Regions from separate parts of the Homo sapiens genome. Here regions 2 and 3 are each linked to region 1. Evidence: promoter capture Hi-C in 16 types of primary human blood cells and fetal thymus (Javierre and others, 2016). All regions are on one chromosome and are shown on one strand. Each heading gives the region's core, a stretch centred on a gene start or on the middle of the fragment in contact. The rest is flanking DNA. Distances are from core to core; before and after follow the strand shown.

Region 1 (2,700 bases), core at 27-2,526:
TTCCATAGTTTACATGCAATTTTGCATCTTGCTTTGCCCCCTGTTTTCATTATAATATTTTTCCTACGGTGCTCCATGCTTTTCATAATGACTATTTATTATATTGCTACCAATTTCAACAGAGGCATAATATGAAAATCATTCTCTCACTGTGGACATTTAGGTTGCTTCCAGTATTTTGTTTTTATACGTGACGTGGTAATCTTTGCATTAAGCATTTTTTCCCAGTTTGGAATATGGACGGCCTACATTTTTTCAGGCACTTTGCTGGATTCTTTTTATTTCATTCAGTCTTCATAATATCAAGTAGATAGCATGGTGTCCATTTCATCCTTGGGGGAGCTCACTTTGATGGGAAGAGTGGTTTCCCCATGATGTCTAAACTGAAAACAGGCCTCTTCACAGAGAACAGAAATGTGGCTAACAGGTCATTTCCTATGACCCCTCAGCTCCCCAAGACTCTTTTGCTAGTGTAGGCTACATAAGCTGAAAATGAGGAGGAAATGTAAAAATCAGAGCCTCCTTGTGCTCATACACACATGCACAGGCAGGATACTGTTGGAACATTCATTCCAGTTTATGTCTGGGGGCTGAGCTGACAGACCCCCATAGCAGCAAGGACCCAGCATGCCTTAGGACATCAGTCTGGATCAAAGGGTTAAAAAAGAGACAAGGAAGCAGGGTCAGGGTGTGCAAGGTGAAAAGACAGTGCGCTCTGAAAATATATGGGACCTCACTGTGGCTAGAACCAGAAACTGGTTCTCACCATTTGGGAAGCCCAGCTCACTGCAAAATATGGCACACTCTGTAAGTGACAGTGACCTGTGAGGGCAGCCCTGCTGTGATTCCCAGGGTTGGCAGAGGGAGGGGAGTCCTAGTGATGAGGGGAGGGGTTATCAGGCTTTTCTCTGCCCTGTCTCATGACTGGCCCTTCCTTCATGCATAGAAAAGCTTCCAGGCTGAGGCTGAGTCATTAGCAATCTCCTTTGTTGATGCTGCTGCCTGGAATCCTTGTCTGGATTCCTGTCTCACTCCTGTCTTGTACCGCAGTCTCTAGGTCTGGTTCCTTGAGGCTATGTTGAGAGGACTTTACCCGCCAGCTACAAAAATCAGGCATAAGGCCAGGAATGGGAAGGTTATTGTGAGCACAATCTATGCACTTGTTAATCATTATTACATATTAACCAATTACTGCATGGCAGAAAAGTGGGGCAAGAGACTACTCTTAAGCCACATGTAGATGTTGTAATCCTGAGCTTTGTCTCCATAATGGGGTAAGATGTCAGAAAAGAGTCAGAAAGCCCAGGTGATAGAATAAGTGCCAAGAACATATACACCATGGAATACTGTGCAGCCATAAAAAGGAATGAGTTCATGTCCTTTGCAGGGACATGGATGAAGCTGGAAACCATCATTCTCAGCAAACTAACACAGCAACAGAAAACCAAACACCGCATGTTCTCACTCATAAGTGGGAGTTGAACAATGAGAACACATGGACACAGGTAGGGGAACAACACAACCCGTGGCCTGTCGGCGGGTGGGGGACAAGGGGAGGGAGAGCATTAGGAAAAATACTTAATGCATTCAGGGCCTAAAACCTAGATGATGGGTTGATAGGTGCAGCAAACCACCATGGCACGTGTATACCTATGTAACAAACCCGCGCATTCTGCACATGTATCCCAGAACTTAAAGTAAAATTTAAACAAATTTTAAAAAAGAGAATAAGTGCCAAGAAAAACAAGAATGAGTTAAGGCCATGTAGGTCTGTATTAAAAATCTGGCTAACAGCAAATGTGTTGAGGATTGCTGCTGCCACAGTGGGTACACTTGAGAACTCAAGTGAAGCCAATGATTGTAACACCAGGGTCAGGCCCTATATTTTCCACTTTTAATATTTTCCAATATTGTGGATCAGAACCAATATGATAGTAAATATTTCAGCATTATATATCTATAATCCCTTATCTGTAGTTTCAAAATTCCCAAAGTGCTGATAAATGTAAAGTTTTTTGTAACTTATTTCATGGCTAAATCCAACTTGAATGGCACTCGTCAGGTCGGGACACCTGAGTCTTGCTCTGTTGCCCCGGCTGGAGTGCAGTGGCATGATCTTGGCTCACTGCAACCTCCGCCTCCCAGATTCAAGCAATTCTCCTGCTTCAGCCTCCCGAGTAGCTGGGACTACAGGCATGTGCCACCACGCCCAGCTAATTTTTTGTATTTTTAGTAGAGATGGGGTTTCACCATGTTAGTGCTTGACTCTTAAATAGGAACAGATATCCAAAGACTACCAGATATTTAAGTATAGCCTCTAAAATAAAAGACAGAGGCCAGGTGTGGTGGCTCATGCTTGTAATCCTAGCACTTTGGGAGGCCGGGTCAGGAGGATCCCTTGAGCCCAGGAGTTTGAAACTATCTGGGCAACATAGGGAGACCTTGTCTCTAGGAAATAAATAAATACATACATAAAATAGAATAAAAGAGACAAAAACAAAGAGAAAAATACAGTGAAAACAAACAGTAAAAAACAAACAAAAACAGAAGAGTGGTTTTTTAAAAAATATAAACCTCAAAGAGATTAAGTGAAAATATGACCTATACAAAACAAGAACAGGATGTTATAAAAAGGAAGCTTCATACATAAAACAAGAAAAAAGTCTTGGAAGTTAAAAACTGAGATTCTCAACAGGTTGG
Region 2 (2,700 bases), core at 116-2,615, 710 kb after region 1:
CCCTTCAGCACGTCGTCTATCCGGTCATCCTCGATCACCACTGCGCAGGGAGAAAGCGCGTCAGCCGCGCGGCCTCGGGGGGCGGCGGCGATGAGAATGAGCCCCGCGTCCTAGCTTCCCGCGCAGCTACTGCCCGTGGCCCAGCGACGCCCCTCGGAACCCTGTGCCGCGGTGTCCTCCCCGTCCGAACTCTTCTGGAGACCCAACCCGCCGCCAAGCCTAGACCCCCTCCCCTCCCGATGGCGGAACGCCCCTCTTCCAAAGGCTCCAGCTATTCTCCCTCCCAGTGCGAGCCCTCCTGCCACCTGAGCCTTCCTCCCTCTGAGTTGATCAGAAACCTCTTGCTCACGGAATCCCCCTCTTCAACCCGCACTTCAACAGATCCCCCTGCTCAAATGGGGCTCAAACCGAGTATCCAGCTGGTCCAGCCCTCTCCTCAACCTGAGCCCTCTCGCCGCTGGAACCCCTCTTCCGATCCTGGCACCAACAGAGCTCCCCTCCCCATGCAAACAACCAAGACAAGCGGACCCCCGGCCTCCTGCCCTCTCTTGTTAGACGTCCCTCTCGACCCGAAGGTTCTTCGTATTGTCCACCGACTCAGTATTTGATCCCAAAGAATCAGCCCGTTACCCCGTGCTCCCACTTCCGTGCAGCCCCAAATGCCCCGACCGGCCCCTCCCCCTCGCCCGGGTGCCAGGGCTCTGCTTCCAGAGGTGGCGAGCATCGAATCCGGGGCACCGTGTTCCCGGGAGAAGGGAAGAGGGGGACACACACTGCAGCGGGGACCCCCCCCTCCAGCCCGGGCTGGAGAGCGGCTGGTGCGCTGGTCTGCGGCAAGAGCTGCGGGCACTCGGCGGGGAACGGCAGCCGGGGGGCGCCCGGCGGAGGGTTTCTGGGTCAGGCGGCGACTCCGGGCCCGGGCCGCGTACCTCGCTTGGCTCGGCCGATCTGGCCCAGCTTGGGGGGTCGCTTGGCCTGGTTGCCCGCGAAGAAGGAGTTGGTGTCCTGCAGGCGGCAGCTGAAGGAGAGGTCGGAGCCCTCGGGGTCTGCGCCGAAGCGGCCCATCTTGTCTTCGCTGTAGGGCAGGATCTCGGACATGGCGGGCGCGGGGTGGGCGCGGGGCGGGAGCGGGACTGCGGCGGGGCGCGGGCGGCGGGCTTGCTGCCGGACCGGCCCTACCTCAGCAGGGGAGCCGGCGGAAGGATGAAGTCATGCAGCATCCGGGGCTGAGGAGCCAAGCGGGGCCTCCTCCCCCGCGCCTCCGCCTCCCGGGCCGCTGGGCAGGCGGCGGCGGCGGCGGTGGCGGGGACCGGGCGGGGGCGGGGGCGGGGGGCGGGGGTGGCGGCGGCGGCGGCAAGAGCGGAATGACGATGAGCGCCCGACTGCGGCAGAGCACGGCGGGCGGGGCGCGGTGGAGGCGGGGCGGGCACTGGCCAGGGGAAAGAGGCGGGGCCGGGGGCAGGAGCGCGCCCAGCTACCCCGGGAACAGAGGCAGCTGGAGTGGGAGGTTCCCGCACTGTGGCGGGGAATGGCCAGCACGTGGGTCTTGGGGAATAGTACCAGCCAACCCGGCCGGGACCTCGCGGGGAGGGGCGGGACCGAAGGGGGGTGGGATCGAGCCTGGTACTGGAGGAGCTTGGAGGAGGGTCTGACCCCTAGGCTGGGAGAGGCGTGCAAGGGGGACTGGGAGCAGGAGGGCAAAAGCTGGCCGGGCGCGTTGGGGCGGGAAGGCGGCCGCAGGGCTGGCAATGGAAAGCGGGGAGCGGGAAATGCGCGGGGAGGAGACTCGGGTACAGGGTGACTGGGGAAGGCACGAACCCACAGCGCGGGAAGAGCTCGGGCCAGTGGGATGGTGCCCTTGCCGCTGACGCGCTCTTGTACTAGTTGCTCTGCTGGTCTTAAGTAGATCGTCAGGGTCCGTGCGCCTCTGAGTGCCGGTCTGTGTCTCTGTCTCCGCCTTTGTGTGTGTCAGTCCATCTCTAAGTGTCTGTATCTCTCTGTCTCTGTGCCCCGTATCTCTTTCGCTGTGTTATGGCCTTTGTCTATGCCTGTCCCTTAAGTGTCTGCCTTTCTCTATCTATCTCCATTCTTGACTCCTGTATCTCTGTGCCAGTGTCTCCGTCTCCTGAATCTGGGTATTTCAGTCTCTCCTAGGAGGGGTCTATAGAAACTGGGCCGACGCGCGCGCACCAGGGCAGACACCCCCAGCCCTAGTCCGGTGGCTGTAGCCCCCCGCGGCTCTGGAGTGGTGCGCTCGCAGTGTAGGAGGAATGAATGGCGGCGTCGCGGGGGGCGCCCTGGGCTGCGGGTGACGCGGGGAAGCTCGGAGCACCTGAGGACGCGGAGCGCGCCAGTGTGTGCCCCGAGGGAGTGCGGTAGAGATGGAGGGTGCCCCCCGCCCTCGTTGCTTTGGACCACGGGTGAGTTCTCGCCTCACCGATGGGAACATGCCCTCTTCTCCCCTTGCCTCCCGCCCCCACAACCCCCGCCCTGGCTGGCCGTCACCCGCGGCGTCACCTGCTTGCCAGCGCGCAGGAGCTCTGGCGCAATCACTGGCCTTGGGGAGGAGGGGGTGTCTCACATGCGGCGACAGTGACGGCAGCGCTGAAAACGGTAATGATCACCCTGTACGTTCATTCCACACTCCAGGCGAACGCGCTTTCCTTCCTTAATCTGGCCAAATTACCAAATCACACAGCT
Region 3 (2,700 bases), core at 135-2,634, 770 kb after region 1:
CAAAGTGCTGGGATTACAGGCGTGAACCACCGCGCCCGGCCCATGATCCTTTTAAACGACAAATCTCATACTACTTGCCTAGTTAGAATGTTTCTAACTTTTTAAACGACAAATCTCATACTACTTGCCTAGTTAGAATGTTTCTATCCTTTTAATTTCCTTTGTTATAGGCCTTTCAAGGACCTAATCTAAATTCTTTTCAAAGCCTGCATAATTCGTGTTGTATCACGATTTACTTAGGCAGGACTGAGTCTTTAATTTCTTTTTTTCTTTCTTTTTTTTTTTTTTTGAGATGGAGTCTCACCCTGTCGCCAGGCTAGAGTGCAGTGGCGTAATTTCGGCTCACTGCAACCTCCGCCTCCCGGGTTCAAGCAATTCTCTGCCTCTGCCTACCGAGTAGCTAGGACTACAGGCGTGCGCCACCAGGCCCAGCTAATTTTTTGTATTTTAGTAGAGACGGGGTTTCACCATGTTGGCCAGGATGGTCTAGATCTCCTGACCCCGTGATCCGCCCGCCTCGGCCTCCCAAAGTGCTGGGATTACAGGCGTGAGCCACTGCGCCCGGCCCATGATCTTTTTAAACTACAAATCTCATACTACTTGCCTAATTAGAATGTTTCTATCCTTTTAATTTCCTTTGTTATTGGCCTTTCAATGACCTAATCTAAATTATTTTCAAAGCCTGCATAATTCGTATTGTATCACGATTTACTTAGGCAGGACGGAGTCTTTAATTTCTTTCTTTTTTTTTTTTGAGATGGAGTCTCGCCCTGTCGCCAGGCTAGGCTAGAGTGCAGTGGCACAATCTCCGCTCACTGCAACCTCTGCCTCCCGGGCTCAAACAATTCTCCTGCCTCAGCCTCCCAAGTAGCTGGGACTACGGGTGCGCCACCACGCCCGGCTAATTTTTGTATTTTTAGTAAAGACGGGGTTTCACCATGTTGGCCAGGATGGTCTCGATCTCTTGACCTCGTGATCCGCCCACCTCGGCCTCCCAAAGTACTGGGATTAAGGTGTGAGCCACCGCGCCCCGCTTATTTTTTTTTTTTTTTTGCCGAGACTTTGATTTCAGTTTCTCAGCCCTCAACCAGCACTTCGCCTTGTACTTAGCATGCACTCAATAAATGGTTGCTTAAAATATGAATGAACTAAAGAATCGCGGAACAGAGAGAAACACAGAGGGGAATCGGTCTGGGAGTTTCAAAGTTCGGGAGGGGACACGGGGGCGGGCTGTGGCTGTCACGTGACGGGGCGGGGGCAAATCCCATGTGCTCGGCGGCGCAGATCGCCCGGCGCGGCTCCGCCCCCTGCGCCGGTCACGTGGGGGCGCCGGCTGCGCCTGCGGAGAAGCGGTGGCCGCCGAGCGGGATCTGTGCGGGGAGCCGGAAATGGTTGTGGACTACGTCTGTGCGGCTGCGTGGGGCTCGGCCGCGCGGACTGAAGGAGACTGAAGGTAAAGCCGCCATGTCCGGGCCCGACCCGGCCCCCCCACCCCCTCCCCCCGCATCCGCCGCCATCCGGGCCGGGACCGGCCACCCTGCGCCGCCGCCCCGGCGCCCTGGCCCCGCGGCCCGACCCAGGGCCCCGGCCCGCCAGGGTCCCGATCCCCGGCCCACGTGTGCCTGGCCCGGCCGGGCCTGGCTGCTGGGTGGGGGTGGGGAGCGCAGGGCCGGACTATGCGGGCCCCGCGGGCTGGTAGGGCGCCGGGTTCGTCGCCGCGAAATGCCACCTCGGCCTGACCCGAGGAGGCCCGGCAGCCCACGGGCGCAGGCACCACGGCTCCCGGCCCGCCGCCCCCTCCCCCCTTCGCGGCCAGGCCGCCGGGAAGTGACACGTTGTTCTTTGGCACTGGCCCGCGCTGCGCAGGGAGGGCGCAGGGGAGGGAGGCGGTGGCGGCGGGCAGGGAGGAGCCCCCGGCCCCGCCCGCCCTCCGGGCCGACCCTCACTTGCCTGAAACCGGCTCCTCGACGGCCGCCGCCCGCCTGGCCTTTTAGGGCCTGACTCCCGCCCTTCCTGGCCTACACTCCTGGGCGGCGGCAGGCCTAGCTTCTGGCCCAGTGCGGGTTCCCCGGCGGCAGGCGTATCCTGTGTGCCCCTGGGCCAGGCCCGAACCCGGTGTCCCCGGGTGGGGGGTGGGGACGCCACGGCCGAAGCAGCTAGCTCCGTTCGTGATCCGGGAGCCTGGTGCCAGCGAGACCTGGAATTTCCGGTCTGGTTGGTCTGGGGCCCCGCGGAGCCAGGTTGATACCCTCACCTCCCAACCCCAGGCCCTCGGATGCCCAGAACCTGTAGGCCGCACCGTGGACTTGTTCTTAATCGAGGGGGTGAGTGAGGGGTCTGTTTCAGTAGGTCAGGGGTTGGTTGGAAGTGATGCGGGTTTGACAGCATGTTGGTGGGGACAGGCTGTATCTTTTCTGCTTCACCCTCTTGGCATCTCTGGGACTCCGTATGGGACCCAGCCCTTGCATCAACCCTTTCACCGCCCCATTTGCCTTAAGCTTGGGTCCCTTCCTCTTCCTGAGCGCCACTCTTTCCCAACAGGTGCTGGGGGGACCCTGATGTGGCACCAAATGAAATGAACAAAGCTCCACAGTCCACAGGCCCCCCACCCGCCCCATCCCCCGGACTCCCACAGGTAATTAGGGAGGAATTAGCAGGGGTGGGGGTGGGGGAGACCAGGCAGTCTCCAGCCTCTGGATC

The links. The method cuts DNA at HindIII sites, captures the fragments that hold promoters and counts their contacts. A CHiCAGO score of 5 or more calls a contact.
Region 2: the fragment with the promoter of CAMK2N2 here is called in contact with the fragment with the promoter of KLHL6-AS1 in region 1 in 3 of 17 cell types (erythroblasts, fetal thymus and neutrophils); the score reaches 6.3 in erythroblasts.
Region 3: the fragment with the promoter of EIF4G1 here is called in contact with the fragment with the promoter of KLHL6-AS1 in region 1 in 12 of 17 cell types (M0 macrophages, M2 macrophages, megakaryocytes and 9 more); the score reaches 11.0 in M0 macrophages.

What each region holds. Positions count from the first base shown.
Region 1 is chr3:183,547,459-183,550,158 of GRCh38, forward strand. KLHL6-AS1 (KLHL6 antisense RNA 1) reads left to right here and starts at 1,277. Exons shown (of 2, transcript NR_046687.1): 1 at 1,277-1,505. The region is part of intron 1 of KLHL6 (kelch like family member 6); the gene reads right to left. The HindIII fragment of the contact is 1,687 bases long and covers 950-2,636 here.
Region 2 is chr3:184,260,188-184,262,887 of GRCh38, forward strand. It overlaps CAMK2N2 (calcium/calmodulin dependent protein kinase II inhibitor 2), which reads right to left and starts at 1,366. Exons shown (of 2, transcript NM_033259.3): 1 at 930-1,366; 2 at 1-40. The coding sequence starts at 1,098. All of the region lies in intron 2 of EEF1AKMT4-ECE2 (EEF1AKMT4-ECE2 readthrough), which reads left to right. RefSeq lists enhancers at 1-20, 21-572, 2,458-2,700. The HindIII fragment of the contact is 12,942 bases long and covers 1-2,700 here.
Region 3 is chr3:184,313,222-184,315,921 of GRCh38, forward strand. EIF4G1 (eukaryotic translation initiation factor 4 gamma 1) reads left to right here and starts at 1,385. Exons shown (of 33, transcript NM_198241.3): 1 at 1,385-1,453; 2 at 2,268-2,324; 3 at 2,542-2,635. The coding sequence starts at 2,576. RefSeq lists enhancers at 808-1,308, 2,033-2,654 and silencers at 1,136-1,465, 1,486-2,195. The HindIII fragment of the contact is 4,143 bases long and covers 1-2,496 here.